Linked DNA regions of Homo sapiens: region 1 is linked to region 2. The links are contacts of gene promoters, found by promoter capture Hi-C in human tissues and cell types (Jung and others, 2019). All regions are on one chromosome and are shown on one strand. The core of a region is centred on a gene start or on the middle of the fragment in contact, and the rest is flanking DNA. Distances in the headings are between cores, read along the strand shown. Region 1 overlaps SFXN5 (sideroflexin 5). Region 2 holds the start of NOTO (notochord homeobox).

Region 1 (3,017 bases), core at 10-2,509, 190 kb before region 2:
AAATGTTAAGCTTAAAATAAGACACTACATGGTTGCCAGTGGATCTGTGAAATCTGCTGACTAAACTGGCACCAGCCTCTGGGAGAAAACCAGCTCGTTTCTCCTGAGCTCTGGGGGGCGAGCAGGGTAGGGCGAGGTGACTCCCGGGCAAAGTGGAAACAGCGTAGGGGTCAAGCTGGGGATGTGCACCTGGGCAGAAGGCAGCTTGACTGTGGTTTCCAGAAGCTTCTCAGTTGAGGCACCTGCCAGCCTTACTCGCCCCTTCCCTTCATCACTCAGGGACCCAGTTCCTAGCACATTCGCTGGCACCCTCGTTTCTATTTTGGTAAGCATTTTTAGTGGCTTCTGCATGCGTATATTTTCTTACCCACTCCATCAGACCAGGGGCTTTCCTAAGGTGTGGACTGGAACCTTCACTCCCCTTCAGACCAGGCATTTGCTTAAATGTTCAGTGCTACCAGGCGACAGCAGGGCCTTGGAGAAGCTGATGGGGCTGCAGGAAGCACTGGAGCAGCCAGCATGCTCTTTCCACACAAGACGAGGCAGTGGCCCAGGGGTGGGGAGGAGTGGTGACGGACCATGTTGCTTGTCCATGTGAAAGTGCCAAGGTGGGAGGCCCAGGTTCTTCAAATCCAGTGGTTCCTCTGGAGACTCAGCCTCTGGCTTGACTGTTCTGAACCTCAGGATACAGATATCTGGGGCTAGGAAGTGGGGATAGGTGAGCATTGTCATTTCAGTTCTGGCTGCCTCGTAGAGCTGCTGGGAGGTATCCCAGGCCATGCTCCCCATTTCGCCTCCATCAAGTATTCACACAGGATCTTGGGGGCCAGGGCATCCTCTTCTTACACCACATGCGTTTATTCACAGAAGGATGCTTGCTCCAGGCTGGGAAAGGATCGGTCCTGTTAGGACATTCACAGCATCTGCTTCAGCAATGAACCCCTGAATGGCAGGGGAGTGGATCAGCATCCAAGTCTCCCACCTGCCTACAGGGCCATAGTGACCCTGCAATGATGGGCTTGTCTAGGGTAGGGTAAGGAGAGAGTGGAAACGTATGGGGTGAGCCTCAGTAACTCCTTGTGAATGGAAGACAGTGCTGGCATCTGCTGGGTTGGCCAGTTCTTCCCACTTGATGGCAGCTGATAATTGTGTAAGGGTCCATTTGGCTTCTCAGGGAAAAATGAGCCCCACATTCAACTTTTGCCATTTCAAATACCCAGTTACCCAGTTTAACAAAGTGATGATACCACCAAATTGTATATCTTTTAAAGTGTTGATGGAATATTTATAAAAGTTATTATGGCATTCTTGTTTGCCTATCACCATTCTTCCCTTCTTTCTTACTAATAGAATCCTTATATAATTGGGGATCAACTATATACCCAGCTAAATTCTAAATGAAATGTATATACCCAGCTAAATTCTGAATGAAATATATGCAGAACATGGAATGTTGCATGGAAATTCCCAAAAGGCTCCTTAAAGAGAGGCTGTATCTTAAAGATAAATGTATTTCGGTTGGGAGATATAGCCTACTATTCTTCTTTTCTTTCTCCTCTCTGGAATGTGAATGTGATGGCTGGAACTCCAGCAGCCATCTCGGGCTATGGGGTGACTTTTTACAATAGAAGCCAGTACTGAAAATGGTGGTGTAGAAAAATGGAAGTCTGGGTTCCTGATGATATTGTGGGGGTCCTCCTTATCTCCAAACTTCTTTGACATAAGAGAGAAATAAACTATTTTGTTTAAGCCACTGTTATTTTGGACTTTGTTACATGCAGATGACCCTGATCCTAACTGACATATTCAGATACCATGCTACAAAGAAAACCACAATAAATCCCAAATGGCAAAATTTGGCAAAATTGTAGAGGTCACTTTCTCTGAAAATAAGATAAGCTAGAACATAACAAAAGAACACATTTTTTAAAACCCAACCACTTAGAATTTAAAATGTGTTCTTCTAATTGACTAAAGAGGATTTGAAATTATAATTCCAAGCTTATTTAGAAAATAACAACATAAGATCACTATATATGAAAACATATCAGATATAGCCATGTTTTAGATATATTCAGAGGCAAATTCACAGCACTAAACACTTTCATTAGAAGGAAAATAAATAAACTAAGCATTCAAGGCAAAAAGTAAGAAAACCAACCACAAACAAAGAAAGGAGGGAAAAAGGATATTATAAAAACAAAAGCATAAAAGAATAATTAGAATACAGAATTGATAAATACATCCAAGAGCTGATTCCACGACATAGCTTTCACAAATCAATCAATTGTGCAGTGGCACAATCAAAACTCACTGAAGCCTCAAACTCCTCAGCTCAAGTAATCCTCCCACCTCAGCCTCCTGAGTAACTGAGACCACAGGCGCACACCACCATGCCTGGCTAATTTTTAAACTTTTTTGTAGAGATGGGATCTCCCTATGTTGCCCAGACTGGTCTCAAACTCCTGGGCTCAAGCAATCCTCCCACCTTGGCCTCCCAAAGTACTGGGATTACACGTGTGAGCCACCACTCCTGGCCTCAGTTATTTTAATAAAGGAGATGGAGGTGTGGAGTGGAAAAAGACTCAAATCAATCAAAAGAGAGATCATTATATTTAAAGACATCAATATTTAAAACTTTTCTATAACAAAGACACCAGAGAATAAGGGAGAAACAGCTGGAGAAGAGACGTGCCATATATATAATCCAAAGGATTAATGTCCAAAATACATAAAGAGCTCTTACAAATCAACTAGAAAAATATGGCCCATGGAAGAATGGACAAAGAGTGTGAACAGGTAATTCAGAGAAGGGGGAATACAAATCACCAATAAATAGATTTAAAAAGCACCAACATCTTTTTGGTGTTTATGGAAACAAAAATTTAAAGTATAATGAGAATCTACCCCTTCTCCCATCAGATTGGCAAAAACGTTAAAAAGATGAATGAATACTAGTGTTACAAAAGCATGGAGAAATATAGTCTTTTTGAAGGGAAATTCAGCCATATCTGTTA
Region 2 (3,346 bases), core at 673-3,172:
TCCGAGTAGCTGAGATTACAGGCACCCACCACAACACCCAGCTAGTTTTTGTATTTTTAGTAGAGATGGGGTTTCACCATGTTAGCCAGGCTGGTCTCAAACTCCTGACCTCAAGTGATCTGCCCGCCTTGGCCTCCCAAAGTGCTGGGATTACAGGCATGGGCCACCGCGCCCAGCCACATATGGTTTTAAGCTATTCAGATATTTCCTTTTATAAAGTGCCTAGTTCATGTACTAACCCATCTCAGTGGTCTTTTTAAAGTCTGTTGTAGGGCTGGGTGCGGTGGCTTACGCCTGTAATCCCAGCACTTTGGGAGGCCAAGGCGGGTGGATCACCTGAGGTCAGGAGTTCAAGACCAGCCTGGACAACATGGTGAAACCCCATCTCTACTAAAAATACAAAAAATTAGCTGGGCATGGTGGCGGGTGCCTGTAATCCCAGCTACTCAGGAGGCTGGGGCAGGAGAATCGCTTGAACCCAGGAGGCAGAGGTTGCAGTGAGCCGAGTGCCATTGCACTCCAGCCTGGGCAACAAGAGTGAAACTCCATCTCTAAATAAATAAATAAATGAATAAAAATAAAGTCTGTTATTCGTTTGGCTTTATTTTTGGTATACTTAACAAAAATTAGCTGGGTGTGGTGGCACATGCCTGTAATCCCAGCTACTGAAGCAGGAAAATCGCTGGAACCTGGGAGGCAAAGGTTGCAGTGAGCCAAGATTGTGCCACTGCACTCTAGCCTGGGCAACTCCATCTCAGAAAAAAAAAAAAAAAGGACTACTAAAAGAATGAAAAGGCAGGCCACAGAGTGACAGAGGTTATCTGCTTCTATGTATATTACAACGAAGGACTTGATTCCAAATTATCTATACATAAAACTCTTACAATAAGAAAAACATAGTGACCCAATACAAAAATAAGCAAACCAGTTGAACAGGCACTTCACACAAAAGAGGATATCCAAGTGGCTGATAAGCATGTAAAAAGATGCTCACAATGAACGGTCTTCAGGGAAATAAATGCAAATTAAAACCACATACCTAGGGGATTTGAAACAAGGCAGTTCTGTTAACCTCTCTTGCTGTATTTACTAATATGTAAATTGGAGATATTAATGCTTATGCTCAGGAATTTACAGTCTGAAGAAGGAATAAATGACACAACAGAAAACTGATAATTATGTATGGAAACACAGAATTATATACTAAAAGTCCAAGGTTAGAGACATAGTGGCCATATCTTTTACCCCTAAATCAACTCAAATCAAATCAAATCAAATCCTGAGCTCAAGCGATCCTCCCGCCTCGGCCTCCCACACAAGTACTGGGATGCCAGGCATGAGCCACTGCACCTGGCCAAAAAAAATATTAAAGAAAGAACGAAATTGGTAATCACAGCGCATCTCAAGGCAGGGAAACTAAAGGGCTGAGGCCAGATGGAAAATGTACTTATCACTGTGCTTATAAATAAAATATTTACATTTTAAAACAAACAAACAAAAAGTCCGCGCGGTCCTAGGTGAATCTGGCCGAGGCTTCTGCGTCAAGGACGGCGCGGGTCAGCTGAGGCCAAGACCGCAGGCACTGCCCTACCGCTCTCCAGATCACAGCTCCGCCTCTGCAAGGCCCCGGGGAAACGGGCATCCCTTCTTCAGTGAGCAAAGGAGAAAGACGGAGCCCGGTGGCTGGGTGTTTCGCCCAGGATCACCAGCGAGCTCAGAGTCCTCCCCACGACCGCCCCAGGGTGGGCATTTTTAAAAGCGGAGGAAGGGAGGGAACACACTCTTTGGTGCTGTGCCCACCTTGCCTCGCACAGAGCGGGCGCTCACAGGCTTTGGGGGCCCCGCCCGGACCGCAGTGGGGAGAGGCCGCCCCATGCCCCGCCCCGCCAAATTTAAGAGCCTTCGCCGAGCGCCAGGAGGTTCCCAGACAACCGGTCTTGCTCGCTGCCTTTTGCAGAATCTTCTCACTTCTCCCGAGCTCCCTTCCTTGCGTCCGTCCGGGCAACGGCCGCGTCATGCCTAGCCCCAGGCCGCGAGGCAGCCCGCCACCCGCTCCCTCGGGCTCTCGGGTCCGACCTCCGCGCTCTGGCCGCTCTCCGGCGCCCAGGTCCCCTACTGGCCCGAACACGCCCCGCGCTCCCGGACGCTTCGAGTCCCCTTTCTCGGTCGAGGCCATCCTGGCGAGGCCCGACCCCTGCGCGCCGGCGGCCTCCCAGCCGTCGGGCTCCGCCTGCGTCCACCCGGCCTTCTGGACCGCTGCTTCCCTGTGCGCCACCGGGGGTCTGCCCTGGGCTTGCCCGACATCGTGGCTGCCCGCCTACCTGAGCGTAGGTTTTTACCCTGTGCCAGGGCCGCGCGTGGCTCCCGTCTGCGGCCTGCTGGGCTTCGGCGTCACAGGTACTGCGGTCCCGGCGCCCGCACGCGGGGGACTGGGCGGGGGCTGGAGAGCCTAGGTCGCCACTGCCGGCGCCCCAGTGCAGGAGAGGGCACTGAGTGTGAGAATCACACACGGCTGGAGTGGGAAGGGGCTCTGCCACCGTTTACCTTGCAGTTGAAGCCGAGGACCGCGACAGTCTTGCTGAAAAAGACCCCGGCGCGAGGCTTCCCCCGCACGCTGCTGAGGTGGGAGAGGGTGGGTGTGAGGGCGGCGCAGCGCCTGAATGCGGTGGGCAGGAGGCCAGCGCTGGGGCTGCAAGGGGACCCAGCCCTGCTCCCGGTCTCCGCGTCCCTTGACTCCCTCGCACACCCCGGGGTAGCGCTTAGTGACAGAGACGCTTCCCAAAGCGGCTCTCGACCCGAACCAATGGCCCTGTTTTTTTTTTTTACGGGGTAGGGGGAAGTGGACGCTCCGGGCGGTGCTGTTGAGCGAGGAGCTGTTAGGAGCTGGTCAAGGCTCACACCCCACTACCGCCTCCACTGCTCACGTCTGTGAACTTGAGCTACACACTTCGCTCTGAGCCTGCGTGCATGCAATGCTCTTAAGTAGTGCTTAAGGGCCAGGCACTTAAATCTCATGAGAAAGTAATTGTAAGGTTGGGCGCGGTGGCTCACGCCTGTAATTTCAGCACTTTGGAAGACCGAGGCGGGTGGATCACCTGAAGTCAGGAGTTCAAGGCCAGCCTGGCCAACATGGTGAAACCACATCTTTACTTAAAAGACAAAAAATTGGCCGGGCGCGGTGGCTCACGCCTGTAATCCCAGCACTTTGGGAGGCCGAGACGGGCGGATCACGAGGTCAGGAGATCGAGACCATCCTGGCTAACACGGTGAAACCCCGTCTCTACTAAAAATACAAAAATTAGCCGGGCATGGTGGCGCGTGCCTGTAGTCCCAGCTACACAGGAGG

The links. Contacts are between HindIII fragments. The study calls those that stand out against the background at their distance.
Region 1: a contact is called between a fragment that was not itself captured here and the fragment with the promoter of NOTO in region 2, in 7 of the 25 tissues and cell types used here (H1 embryonic stem cells, IMR-90 fibroblasts, bladder and 4 more).

What each region holds. Positions count from the first base shown.
Region 1 is chr2:73,008,816-73,011,832 of GRCh38, forward strand. All of the region lies in intron 6 of SFXN5 (sideroflexin 5), which reads right to left. LOC107985897 (a long non-coding RNA gene) reads right to left here. Exons shown (of 2, transcript XR_001739535.2): 1 at 368-3,017. Among named protein-coding and RNA genes, the nearest start is that of SFXN5, 61 kb to the right of the region's middle. The HindIII fragment of the contact is 3,728 bases long and covers 1-3,017 here.
Region 2 is chr2:73,200,652-73,203,997 of GRCh38, forward strand. It overlaps NOTO (notochord homeobox), which reads left to right and starts at 1,923. Exons shown (of 3, transcript NM_001134462.2): 1 at 1,923-2,397. The coding sequence starts at 2,016. RefSeq lists an enhancer at 2,766-3,317. The HindIII fragment of the contact is 15,336 bases long and covers 1-3,346 here.